Regions from separate parts of the Homo sapiens genome. Here region 2 is linked to region 1. The links are contacts of gene promoters, found by promoter capture Hi-C in human tissues and cell types (Jung and others, 2019). All regions are on one chromosome and are shown on one strand. The core of a region is centred on a gene start or on the middle of the fragment in contact, and the rest is flanking DNA. Distances in the headings are between cores, read along the strand shown.

Region 1 (6,282 bases), core at 2,701-5,200:
CATGTCAGCAGGTGGAGACCCCCTCACCATTCCGTGTGCGCACCTTACATGTTCTTGCCTCCGCCTCCATCCTTGCTCCTGCCACCCCCGCTACCTGGAATGTCCTTTCCTTCCTCTCTGCCTCTGCCAGTCCTACCCATCCTTCTAGGCTAATATGCCACCTTTTCCAGGAAGCTTTCCCTGATCTGGAAGTGACTGTTGTACCCTCTGGGCCTCCCGTGGGGCTCCTATCACTTTCAGCCTTGGGCAGTAGTCACCTGTAGCCTACCTTACCCCCTCCTAAGCCTGTGCTCTCCTTTCTGGCAGGAGCTTCTCTGCACCCTAGCACTCCTGGGCGGGGTCGGAACCACTGCAATGCCTCTGTGCCTTACCTGTTCACAAGGCCTTCGACGTACCCCTGGAGGCGGCCCCAGGGCCCGGATGACTCCTGGCCGGGGTTGTGGGGGGCTGTACTGAGGGTAGGTCAGAGGCCTGGGGTAACTGCTGGGCCCCAGGAAATGAGGCTGTACCATCCACTGCAGCTCCTGACTGCCACTCATGGTGTTGATGCTTGGCACCAGGTGGAACTTCTAAGGAATAAGAAATGGAAGGCCACAGATGAGGTCCGTGTGGATTGAGGGGCTTCCACTGGGCAGAGGCTACACTGCTGTCTACCTTCAATGTACAGGCTAGCTCTGGGAACAGAAAGAGCACAGCTTGGCAGTCAGAGACTGACCTGGTGGCAAATCCCTGCTCATAAGCTGTGTGGCTTTGGGGCAGGTCACATAACCTCTCTGTGCCCCCATTTCCCCATTAGAACTAACATTTATAAAGCACAAACTGCCAGGAACTGTTCTAACCACTTTACAAATACTGACTCATATCATTGGCACAGTAATATCTTCATTTTCTTTTCTTTCTTTTTTTTCTTTTTTTTTTTTCAGATGGAGTCTCACTCTGTTGCCCAGGCTGGAGTGTAGTGGCACGATCTCAGCTCACTGCAACCTGCGCCTCCCAGGTTCGAGTGATCCTCCTGCCCCAGCCTCCTGAGTAGCTGGGATTATAGGCGTGCACCACCATGCCCGGCTAATTTTTGTATTTGTGGTAGAGACAGGGTTTCACCATGTTTGCCAGGCTGGTCTCCAGCTCCCAACCTCAGGTGATCCACCCGCCTCGGCCTCCCAAAGTGCTGGGATTACAGGCGTGAACCACAGCGCCCAGCCTAGTATCTTCATTTTCAGACGGGAGAACAGTTGTCCGCAGACACAGAGCCAATGAGCCCAGCAGCTGGGCTCTTACCCACTCCTGCACCCGTTTGCACGAAGAGGATAATTACAGCTCCCAGCTCAAGGGGAGGCTGTGAGAATCAGGTGAGAGAATGTGTGCGACAGTCTGGTAAGTGGCAGGTGCCCAGTGCAGAGGGGCTGAGGCAGGAAAGAGTCACTGCTCTGGGTTCAGGCCATTCCATTGCTTTTTTTTTTTTTTTTCTTGAGACAGGGTCTCACTCTTTCACCCAGGTTGGAGTGCAGTGACCTGCGGGCTCAAGCAATCCTCCCACCTCAGCCTCCCAAGTAGCTGGGACTACCGACGTGCACCACCACATTTGGCTAATTTTTTTTTTCTTTTCTGTTTTTTTTTTTTTGAGACACAGTCTTGCTTTGTCACCCAGGTTGGAGTGCAGTAGCCCGATCTCGCCTCACTGCAACCTCCACCTCCTGGATTCAAGCAATTCTCCTGCCTCAGCCTCCCGAGTAGCTGGGACTACAGGCGCCCACAACTGTGCCCGGCTAATTTTTGTATTTTTAGTAGAGACAGGGTTTCACTATGTTGGCCAGGCTGGTCTTGAACTCCTGACCTCTGGTGATCCACCCGCCTTGGCCTCCCACAGTGCTGGGATTATAGGCATGAGGCACCGCGCACGGCCTGGCTAATTTTTTTTAAATTTTTTTGTAGAGACAGGGTCTCACTAGGTTGCCCAGGGTGGTCTCAAATTCCTGAGCTGAAGCAGTCCACCCACCTCAGCCTCCCAAAGTGTTGAGATGACAGGCTTTAGCCACCTGGCATGGCAGGCTGTCCCAATTCTAATCTCAGCTCTCAGCTACTTACTGGCTGTGTGACCATGGGCAAGTTATTTAACCTCCATGTGCCTCAGTTTCCTCATTTTTAATATTGTTACAGGTGAGGATTACAGGATTTCACTGATGTTAAGAAGTACCCTTTAATAGCTCTGAAATCATAGTTTAATTGGCAATTTAAAAAATTTTAGTGGACTAGGCATGGTGGCTCATACCCAGCACTTTGGGAGGCTGAGGTAGAAGGATCACTTGAGCTCAGGAGTTTGAGGTCACACCGGGCAACACAGTGAGACTTCATTTCTACAAAAAAATTAAAAAATTAGTTGGGTGTGGTGGTGCGTGCCTGTGGCCAGGTCGCTTCCCAGCTAGGATCTCAGTAGGATTGCTTGAGCCCAGGAGGCTGAGGCTGCAGTGAGCTGTGATTGCACCACTGCTCTATAGTCTGGGCAACAGAGGGAGACCCTGTCTCAGAAAAAAAAAAAAAAAGAAAAGAAAGAGAAGGAAAGAAAATTAGTGGCATAAAGTTATAGTGGGTTTTTTTTTCAATCGATGAGGTCTTCGATTCCGTGAAATATGGTAAATGATGTAGCAAGCGCCCAGCACAACGTCCCTGTTCCCATTCTATCAGCCAGCTATCTGAGGAGTGGGTTGGGATGGGGCTCAGTGTTCTGGGAGAAGTGGGTTCTAGCTCTGCCGCTGGGCCCTGGGTGTGGGCGCCCAATCGTCCGGGAAGCGCCCACAAGCCCAGGCAAGTCCCGACAGCGGTAGCCCGAGCCCAAGCGCTGCGGGCCCGGCGTCCCAGTGACCCCAGTTCCGGGTCCGAGGCACCGCCGGCGGCATCTCCCACTCCCGGGCCCGGGCCGCTCCAGGCCAGGAAGGGAGGGACGCCCCGGGTGACTCAGCCGCCGTGACTCGGCCGCCGTGACTCGGCGGAACGGACGCCCCTCCTTCCCTCCCCTGTCGACACGTGCTCGCAGCCCCTCGACAGGAAATGGGCACCTGCAGCCTCCCGGGTGCCCCCCGGCGGGCAGCGGGCGCCGTTAGGGGCTGAGAGTGGGGTCGCGAGAGTCGCCCGCAGCCTGACCCCGCGCACGTCCCGGAACCTCGAGGTCTCTATTCGCCGCATTCGGCAAAGGGATCGAGGGCCGGTCTCCGGGGACCTGGCAGGTTCCACTGCCCGGACCCCCCTGGACTCCCCAGGCCGAGAAACGATAGGGACTTGGCGACGGAGGGGCGAAGGACAGACAGACGGACGGACACGCGGAGGGTCGCAGACCGGGCCGGGACTCCCACCCTGGCCCAGCTGCTCTCCCGACGGATCCCGCCTCCCTCCCGTGTGGGGACCCTCACCCCAGCCCAGACTCCAGATCCCAGGAATTCAGCCCGAAGCGGAGAGACCCTCCTAGCCTTCGAGGCGACCACCCTAGGCGCCCACGCCCCTTCTGAAGCAGGGTGGACGCAGAAGTCAGAGGTGGGCAGGAGGAGAGAAAGCGGGCACGGAGACGGAGGGACGGACGCGGACGGCGAGGGAGAAGGGGGCGGCTGGGAGAAGGGGAGTTCGCGGGTCTCTGCTGCCCGCTGCGCGGTGGGGGCAACTGGCCCCGGACGGCGAGGGGCAGGATCCTCGCCCCAGCCCCCAGCCCGGCCCCGACTCCGGTTCCCCGCTCCAGTCCCGGAGCGTGCGGGAGTTGACCCCGGCCTCCCACGCGCGGTCCTCCCGTGGGACCACCGGCGTCGGGCCCCACTCACCTGCTGGGCTGCCTGCGCTGCGGCCGGGGGCTGCGCGGGGCCGCCGTACCCGCCGCCGTTCCCGGAGCTCGGGCCGGGTTCCCCGAAGTCTCGGAACATGCCCGGGGCTGGCGGCTCTGCGGGGTACACGGCTGCTGGGTTCTGACTCACCCGCGCCGTGCGGAGTCTTTTCTTTTTATGAATGAAAAGTTCTCGGGCTGAACCACTGCGACCGCGGGGGGTGGGGGCGTTGCAGCGGCGCGGTCACCTCCAGGCTCCACCCCCGAGACGCGCCGCCTTGGCCCGTCGGTCCCGAACTTGGCGACGCCTCCCCAAGTCCGGCTGCAGCCTTTTCACCGGGATGGGCCCGGCTCGGCGTTCCCCGGAGGCTGCGGGCCCGCCCCCCTGACGTAGCTGCCCATACATGGTGTAACTTCCTCGCCGCGCCCAGGTGGAGCCCCGGGTTCCCCTGCGGACTGACGCACCTGCCAGAGCCCGCGCCCCGCCCCAGCCCTCTCGAGGCCTGGGCTAACCTCCGTTTCTGCTCCCACAAAATAGCACGAAAGAATCACATCTCTAGGAGCCACGCCAACCGCCACCCAAAGCTTCGTGGAGTGAGGTCTTTCCACTGGCCTTGTTTTAAGGCTTCGAGTATATGAAAAGTGAATAAATGACAAACCAGGGTTACAAAAATGGTGGCATATTTTATTTTACTTTATATTTTTGAGACCGGGTCTCTGTCACCCAGGCTGGAGTGCAGTGGCTCGATCTCGGCGCACTGCAGGCTCAACTTCCTGAGCTAAAGGGATTCTCCTGCCTCAGCGCCCCCTCCAAGTAAGTGGGACTACAGGCGCGCGTCACCACACCCAGGTAATTTTTGTGTTTTTTGTAGGGATTGGGTCTCGCCGTATTGCCCAGGCTGGGTGGTATATTTTAAATGTTTGCGATAAGGTAATGCTTTGAACTAACCCCACATAAAATGCAATATAATAGTATTACTCAGGATAATTTCAGGAGCTATAACGAGTTTTAATTCAGGGCCACTACAGGTGTCCTGAGGTCTGATAAACGCCATCTTCATTACGGTCAGTGCCTTTCGGAGGCTTGTGGCCACCAGACTTGTTTGGAGAGTATGTCAAAGGTGAGTGAATGTGAGGCAGGTATCATCCTCATCTCTGTTTTACAGATGGGGAAACTGAGGCTGGGAGATGCTGAAATGAATTGCTTGAAGTCGCTAAGTGAGTAGCTGGCACAGGTTGCCAAGTCACAGCCGTGGGCACTCCAAGCCCAGGCTCAGCCAAGATTTTCAAAGCCCTTACACCTTCACAGACACCTTGTCGCACATCCAGAATGTTAGTGCTGGGCACCATCCCAAAGCTTCTCTCTGATTACTTCCATCATAGATGAGGAAACTGAGGCCCAGATGGAGTACTGAGCTGTCAGTTGTCACACGACTACAGAAAGAGGGCTGGGGCCAGGTGTGGTGGCTCATGCTTGTAATCCTAGCACTTTGGAAGGCCAAGGCAGAAAGAACCATTTGAGACCCCATCTCTACAAAAAATTATAAAATTTTCTGGACATGGTGGTACGCCTGCCTTGTGGTCCCAGCTGTTCTGGAGGCTGAGGCGGGAGGATGGCTTAAGCCAGGGAGGTTGAGGCTGCGGTGAGCTGTGACTGCGCCACTGCAGTCCAGCCTGGGGGACAGAGCAAGACTCAAAGTAAATAGATCAAGAGAGGGCTGGGCTCTCCTGCTTCTCCATCGGTCCTTCCATTTCATCAGCTCTAGCTTTGCCCTCTGGGCTACTTTCCTTGGGAACACAGGCCAGAAGCCTGTGGGTGCACTCAGGACTTAGAGCCAGGAAGTCCAGATTGCCCCTGGGGTTCTAGTCCCAGAGCTACCATTTTCTGTCTGTGTGACACTGGGCAGGTCACCTTCCTTCAACTGGGCCTCCCTGCTGATCTCACAGAGCTGTTGTGGGATCAAGTGAGATCACAGATGTGAAAATGCTTTGTAAGCTATAAAGTGTTATGCACTCAGAAAGTGGTTACCAGCCTGGTGCCTCTCCTTTGCCTTTGAGCGACCCAATGCTTGTCACCCTCTTGTCATCATCATCTCTGTGTGTGTGTGTGTGTGTGTGTGTGAGAGAGAGAGAGAGAGAGAGAGAAAGAGAGAGAGAAAGGAGAGGAGAGTGTTTTTGAGGCAGTATGATCCGTGGACAGAACACCCGTGCTGGGGTCAGACAGCTCTGGGGTCTGGGTTTGAATGTGGTTAGGCTGCTCACCAGTTGTGTGACCTAGGTGAGGCACACAATCTCTCAGAGCCTCTTTCATTATCTGTGAAATGGAGACATAATGATAACTATCTCAAGGGTTGTTGGAGGACACAAGTAATGTCACATGCTTAGCACAGCACATAGTAAGAATTTGACACATAGGCTGGGTGCCGTGGCTCACGCCTGTAATCCCAGCACTTTGGGAGGCTGAGGCAGGTGGATCACGA
Region 2 (6,282 bases), core at 997-3,496, 640 kb before region 1:
AAAGCAGGAAACCTAAAACCCATACAGGAAAAGAATTGCACAGTGTTGTGTGGTAGAAAAAAAAACCCACAAAGTTAAAAGACAGGTTGGGAAAAATATGTATGTAACACATTTGATATCCATTGGTTATTGCTGATGGTGGGAAACTGCAAACATTTTCCGTAAAGAGCCAGAGAGTAAATATTTGAGGCTTAAGGGTGTGAACCCCAAAAGAGGTTCATGATGGATCCGGAGTGGCTAACTAGGCCTAAATTCAAAATACAGCCAAGCAGCCATTGGCTGACTAGAGGTCACACATACTTCGGTTTTTGTTTGCTTTTTTTTTTTTTTAGGCGGAGTCTCGCTCTGTTGCCCAGACTGTAGTGCAGTGGCACAATCTCGACTTACTGCAAGCTCCGCCTCCCGGGTTCACGCCGTTCTCCTGCCTCAGCCTCCCAAGTAGCTGGGACTACAGGTGCTCGCCACCACGCTAGGCTTTCTTTTTTTTTTCTTTTTTTTTTTTTTAGTAGAGACGGGGTTTCACCGTGTTAGCCAGGATGGTCTCGATCTCCTGACCTCGTGATCCTCCCGCCTCGACCTCCCAAAGTGCTGGGATTACAGGCGTGAGCCACCGCACCCGGCCTTTGTTTGCTTTTTGAGACACGATCTTGCTCTGTCGCCCAGGCTGGAGTGCAGTGAGGCGATCATGACTCACTTCAGCCTCGACCTCCCGAACTCAAGCGCTCCTCCAGCCTCAGCCCCCAGAGTGGCTGAGATCACAAGAACCCGCCACCACCGCCCGCTAATTTTTTGTAGAGAAGGGGTTTCGCCACGTTGCCCAGGCCGATCTTGAACTCCTGGGCTCAAGTTAAGGGAGGAGACCACCCCTCATATTGTCTTACGCCCAATTTCTGCCTCCAAAGAAAGAAAAAGTAAAACTAAAAGGCAGAAATGAAATCCACAAGCAGACAGCCCGGCCTCACACCCTAGGCTTGGTAAAGATGGACCCCTGACCTAATCAGTTATGTTATCTATAGATTACAGACACTGTATAGAAAAGCACTGTGAAAATCCCTATCCTGTTTTGTTCTGATCTAATTACTGGTGCATGCAGCCCCCAGTCACGTACCCCCTGCTTGTTCAATTGATCACGACCCTCTCAGGCGCACCCCCTTAGAGTTGTGAGCCCTTAAAAGGGACAGGAATTGCTCATTCGGGGAGCTCGGCTGGTGAGACAGGAGTCTTGCCGATGACCCCAGCCGAATAAACCCCTTCCTTCTTTAACTCGGGTGTCTGAGGAGTTTTGTCTGTGGCTCGTCCTGCTACAAAGTGATCCGCCTGCCTCGGCCTCCCAAATGCTGGGATTACAGGCGTGAGTGACCGCACCTGGCCTGGGATGGACATTTTAAAGGTTCCTGATACATATTGCTAAATTGTTTTCTCGAAACGCTCTATACCATCCCACCAGCATTGTATGACGCCTACGGTTGAGATTTTTGGCTCAAAGAATTACGGTGTATTTCAAGGGGAGAACCCTCTTCTCATCTTACCCCTAAACTCTATCCTTGAGTGACCTACCTTCACTCCCAAGCCTCCAGTCACCCACTGGGAATCTCTACCTGGAAATCCCAGAGGCACTCAAACTTAACGTGTCCAAAACTAAATTATCCGTCACCTTCCCACCTCATATCCCCCCAAATGCCCCAGATTCAGAAAACATACCCATCACTGTGGCTGGCACCACGGTGATAAGCACGATAATAACCATGGCAACCAGATTCCCTACTGAAGCCATTCTTTTAGGATGAACCAAGGGCACAACAGGCAGAGATGACAAGGGGAATGGAGAAGGGGGTACAGTAAGTTTTAGATAGTCGAAGGCACGCGCACGACAACGCCTGCGCACCACGGAACAGGGCAAAAGGGTGACAAACATGCGCCACTGAGTTTTATCGAGCAGCCGATGCCCAGAAAACAGGCATCCGCACACAGACTCAGTTTCCTTGTAGGCAACTCCCGGGCGTTGCGAGTCACAACCGGCATTCTCGCGCCGTGAGAGAGAACTGCGCAGCTGCTGACTGGCGGGCCGCCAGGCGCGTGCGTAGAGACGCCCACACGCCCGCTGATGCGCACGCGCCCTGGGCCGCGCGTGCGCGCGTGGGGTTCCGGAATGAGCCGGGGAAAGCAAGGGGAAGGTTTGGGGTTGGCTCCCGGTTTCGCGCATGCGTGCACTGCACAAACCATTTGGCGGGTTTTTCCGGCCACTCAGTTCTGCCACCGTCACTGAGAAGCTCAGCGGTAGCTTTTGGGAAGCAGGACGTTCTCACCAGGAGAGCGTCCTCTCGAGATTTCTGCTCCCTCCATTCAGGGCGTTTGGGAGCCACCCCTTCATTTTTTAAAAAAAGTATTTCTCTGTGACCGACGGCCGGGGCCTTCTGACGGTCTGAGGTCTTGCTTGGGCCAGTCACCTCCTGTCACGGTCCGCGGAGGGGGGAAGGATAAGAGGGCGAGGAGCTCATCGCTCGCCACCCCCGTGGGCTTCTTGGGCGCAGGTCGGAGCTGGGTGGGCCGGCTCCCCGGCCCCTGGCTTGGGCGACCATGTCCGCATCCGCCCAGCAGCTGGCGGAGGAGCTGCAGATCTTCGGCCTAGACTGCGAGGAGGCTCTAATTGAGAAATGTGAGTCCCGCACCCCTCCCGCCCTGCAGCCGTGCTCCACGCTCTCGCCCGAGTTCCTCGGCGCCTAGAACCGAAAGTGGAGCGCTTCCAATTTCCACTTCCCCTGGAGCAGAGTTCTCGGTGGCTGTGAGATGAAGAATCAAACTTGAGTTTTGAGATTTAGGATGTGGGGACTTTGAAATGCCCACCGGGTACCGCTTGGATGCCAAATCAAAAATAGGAATATGCAGCACGATTTTAAACCAACTCGAAGTTCCCGAAAGGCGGAATTGGGATGTGCTAGATAGAGACTAGGCACTGGTGGCACCTGAGTTTGGAAATTGTTGAAGCCCCGGTAACAAAGCAACAGATGTGGGGGTTTTGAAATGTAGCTTTTTATTCTTGGCTCCTCCCTTTCCAGCCTACACCTTAAACCTCTGCTGATCCATCAGTTATTTTATCATAGCTGTTGGTGGTCTGTGCAAATATGAATCCCTTGAGGTAGGTTCCTAAAATTGAATTTGAGCTGTGGAAGGAGCTTTAGGGAGCTTTACAGATGGAGAAACAGACAAGGAAAGCTAATTGCCTGAGCTGTCTGTGAAGCCAGGTGTCCTGCCTTGGAGTCCCGTGCTGCATCATACGGGTCCATCGTGTTGGTCAAGCTGTAGAGCAGTGTAAGGAGTCATTTGAAGCAAAGCCTGGGAGATGTGGAAGTTCTAGAATCGGTATGAATGTGCACCTGCCTTAACCACTCAACACTTTGAACTTCTTATATACAAAAAGATAACGAAACGTTAATTTATGGTGAGAAATTCCTTTCAGAAACCAGAATACTTCAAGTCTTCATGCCCAGTGCCTTCTCTCTCTCTCTTTTTTTTTTTTTTTTTTTTTGACAGTCTTGTTTTATCACCCAGGCTGGAGTGCAGTGGTGCAATCTCGGCTCACTTCAGCCTCCGCCTCCCAGGTTCAAGCGATTCTCCTGCCTCAGCCTCCCAAGTAGCTGGGATTACAGGCGCCCGCCACCAGGCCCGACTAATTTTTTTTTGTACTTTTAGTAGAGAAGGGGTTTCACCATGTAGGCCAGACTGCTCTCGAACTCCTGACCTCAAGTGATCCACCCACCTTGGCCTTCCAAAGTGCTGGGATTACAGGCATAAGCCAGCAGGCTCGGTCCTTCTCTTTTTAAAAGAAGACTAGCCAGGTGTGGTGGCTCACGCCTGTAATCCCAGCATTTTGGGAGGCCAAGGCAGGTGGATAATCTGAAGTCGAGAATTTGAGACCAGCCTGACCAACATGGAGAAACCCTGTCTCTACTAAAAATACAAAATTAGTCGGGCGTGGTGGCGCATGCCTGTAATCCCAGCTACTCAGGAGGCTGAGGCGGAAGAATCGCTTGAACATGAGAGGCAGAGGTTGTGGTGAGCCGAGATCACACCATTGCACTCTAGCCTGGGCAACAGGAGCGAGACTCTGTCTCAAAAAAAAAAAAAAGACTTAAGTGGAAAACCTGATCATAGTCAGAAATGTATGTGGTAAGCATGAAATCAGCATGAGAGAAATTAGTTATGTGAACCAGATTTGTAAAGGCTTCAGGCCAAGATGCCAGTTGCTTTCATCTCATGGCAATGGCTTTGGAATTGTGGACTTTGGATCATCAGTAACTTCAGTGGCACCTTAATGTTTCCTGACAGTCAACCGTATTTCCCTGTTTTTTTTGTTGTTGTTTGTTTTGTTTTTTGAGATGGAGTTTCTCATTGCCCAGGCTGGAGTGCAATGGTGCAATCTTGGCTCACTGCAACCTCTGCCTCCCGAGTTCAAGCGGTTCTCCTGCCTCAGCCTCCCGAGTAGCTGGGATTACAGGCTCCCGCCACCACGCCCGGCTAATTTTTTGTATTTTTAGTAGAGATGGGGTTTCGCCATGTTGGGCAGGCTGATCTCGAACCCCTGACCTCCAGTGATCCTCCCACCTCGGCCTCCCAAAGTGCTGGGATTATAGGTGTGAGCCACCACACCTGTTCTACTTTTTGTATTTTCAGTAGAGACAAGGTTTCACCATGTTGGCCAGGCTGGTCTTCAACTCCTGACCTCAGGTGATCCGCCCACCCTGGCCTCCCAAAGTGCTGGGATTACACTGCGCCAGGCCCCTGGTCTCTTTACTCTGAGTCTTCCAGATGATTGTTTTCCACCTTCTCCTGTAACATCCTTCTGTCCCACCCTCACTCTCAGCTGACAAATTTCTATTATTTGCTGAAAAATGTAGAAGCATTAGAAAACTTCGATCAGCTACCACCATTATGTCTCACTGACCCATATCTGTGGCATATACCTAGCCTTCTTTCCTATTATAATGAATAAGCTTTCCGTATTCCTAGCAAAATCCAAGTCCTCCACTTGAGTCCTAAACCCCATTCCTTCTGAAGCAATTAAGGACATCACTGGTAATTCTCCTGTCTTACATATTTTCTATTTTCCTTGCTACAAGATTTTTTTCCTACTAGTATAGAAATGTGCTTCCAATCTTGCCTTTAAAATACTCTGTTGACCCTACTTCCCACTCCAGTTCTCTCCTTCCCAATTACAGCAGACCTCAAAAGGGTCGGCCGGGTGCGGTGGCTCACGCCTGTAATCCGAGCACTTTGGGAGGCGGAGGAGGGCGGATCACAAGGTCAAGAGATGGAGACCATCCTGGCCAACGTGGTGAAACCCGGTCTCTACTTAAAATACAAAAATTAGCTGGGCATGGTGGCGCATGCCTGTAGTCCCAGCTACTTGGGAGGCTGAGACAGGAGAATCGCTTGAATCGGGGAGGTGGAGGTTGCAATGAGCCGAGATCGTGCCACTGCATTCCAGCCTGGCAACAGAGTGCAACTCTGTCTCCAAAAAAAAAAGGGGGGGGGCCTTGCCATCTTTAAATATTTCCTCCTTAAATCCATTTCAGTAAGTTCTTTTGTTGCCACCACTTCACCAAAGCTGCTCTACTCAAGGTCACCAGTGACCTTCACCATGCTAAAACCAGTGATGAATTTTCAGTCCTCATCTTGAATTGAATTAGCACCGGCACTTGACACTGTTTGTCATTTTTTCTTTTTTTAAACACATTTTTCTTTTAGCTTCTTAGACACTACTAGTTTTTCTTTCTTTTTTTTCTGAGACAGGGTCTTGCTCTGTTGCCCAGGCTGGAGTATAATGGGCAAATCACAGCTCACTGCAGCCTCAACCTCCTTGGCTCAAGCAATCCTTCCACCTCAGCCCCCAAGTAGCTGTAACTACAGGCACATGCCACCAAGCCCACCTAATTGTTGTATTTTTTATAGAAACGGTTTCACCCTGTTGCCCAAGCTGGTCTCAAACTTCTGGGTTCAAACAGTCTGCCCACCTCAACCTCACAAAATACTGGATTACAGGCGTGAGCCACTGCATCCGGCTTACTCCTAGTTTTTCTTCAGCTTTGCTTGTGTCACCGCTTCTCAGGCTTTGCCGATTCATCCTCAGAGGCCCTAAGGCGCCCCAAGACTCAAGCCTGGGATCTTTTCTCCCTTCTAGATACGCTCACTCCCTTGGCGATCTCACCTGGGGTCTCATAGCTTTATATCCCATGTATTTACTGATGGTTCCCAAATTTATACCTCCGCCCACAACCCTTGCCT

Evidence for each region. Contacts are between HindIII fragments. The study calls those that stand out against the background at their distance.
Region 2: a contact is called between the fragment with the promoter of POLA2 here and the fragment with the promoter of FOSL1 in region 1, in 1 of the 25 tissues and cell types used here (dorsolateral prefrontal cortex).

The regions. Positions count from the first base shown.
Region 1 is chr11:65,896,438-65,902,719 of GRCh38, forward strand. FOSL1 (FOS like 1, AP-1 transcription factor subunit) reads right to left here and starts at 3,951. Exons shown (of 4, transcript NM_005438.5): 1 at 3,804-3,951; 2 at 372-569. The coding sequence starts at 3,902. RefSeq lists silencers at 2,822-3,049, 3,015-3,134, 3,743-4,342. The HindIII fragment of the contact is 4,995 bases long and covers 1-4,773 here.
Region 2 is chr11:65,259,716-65,265,997 of GRCh38, forward strand. POLA2 (DNA polymerase alpha 2, accessory subunit) reads left to right here and starts at 2,247. Exons shown (of 18, transcript NM_002689.4): 1 at 2,247-2,656. The coding sequence starts at 2,578. RefSeq lists enhancers at 1,385-2,272, 2,267-2,516, 2,273-3,158. The HindIII fragment of the contact is 14,798 bases long and covers 1-6,282 here.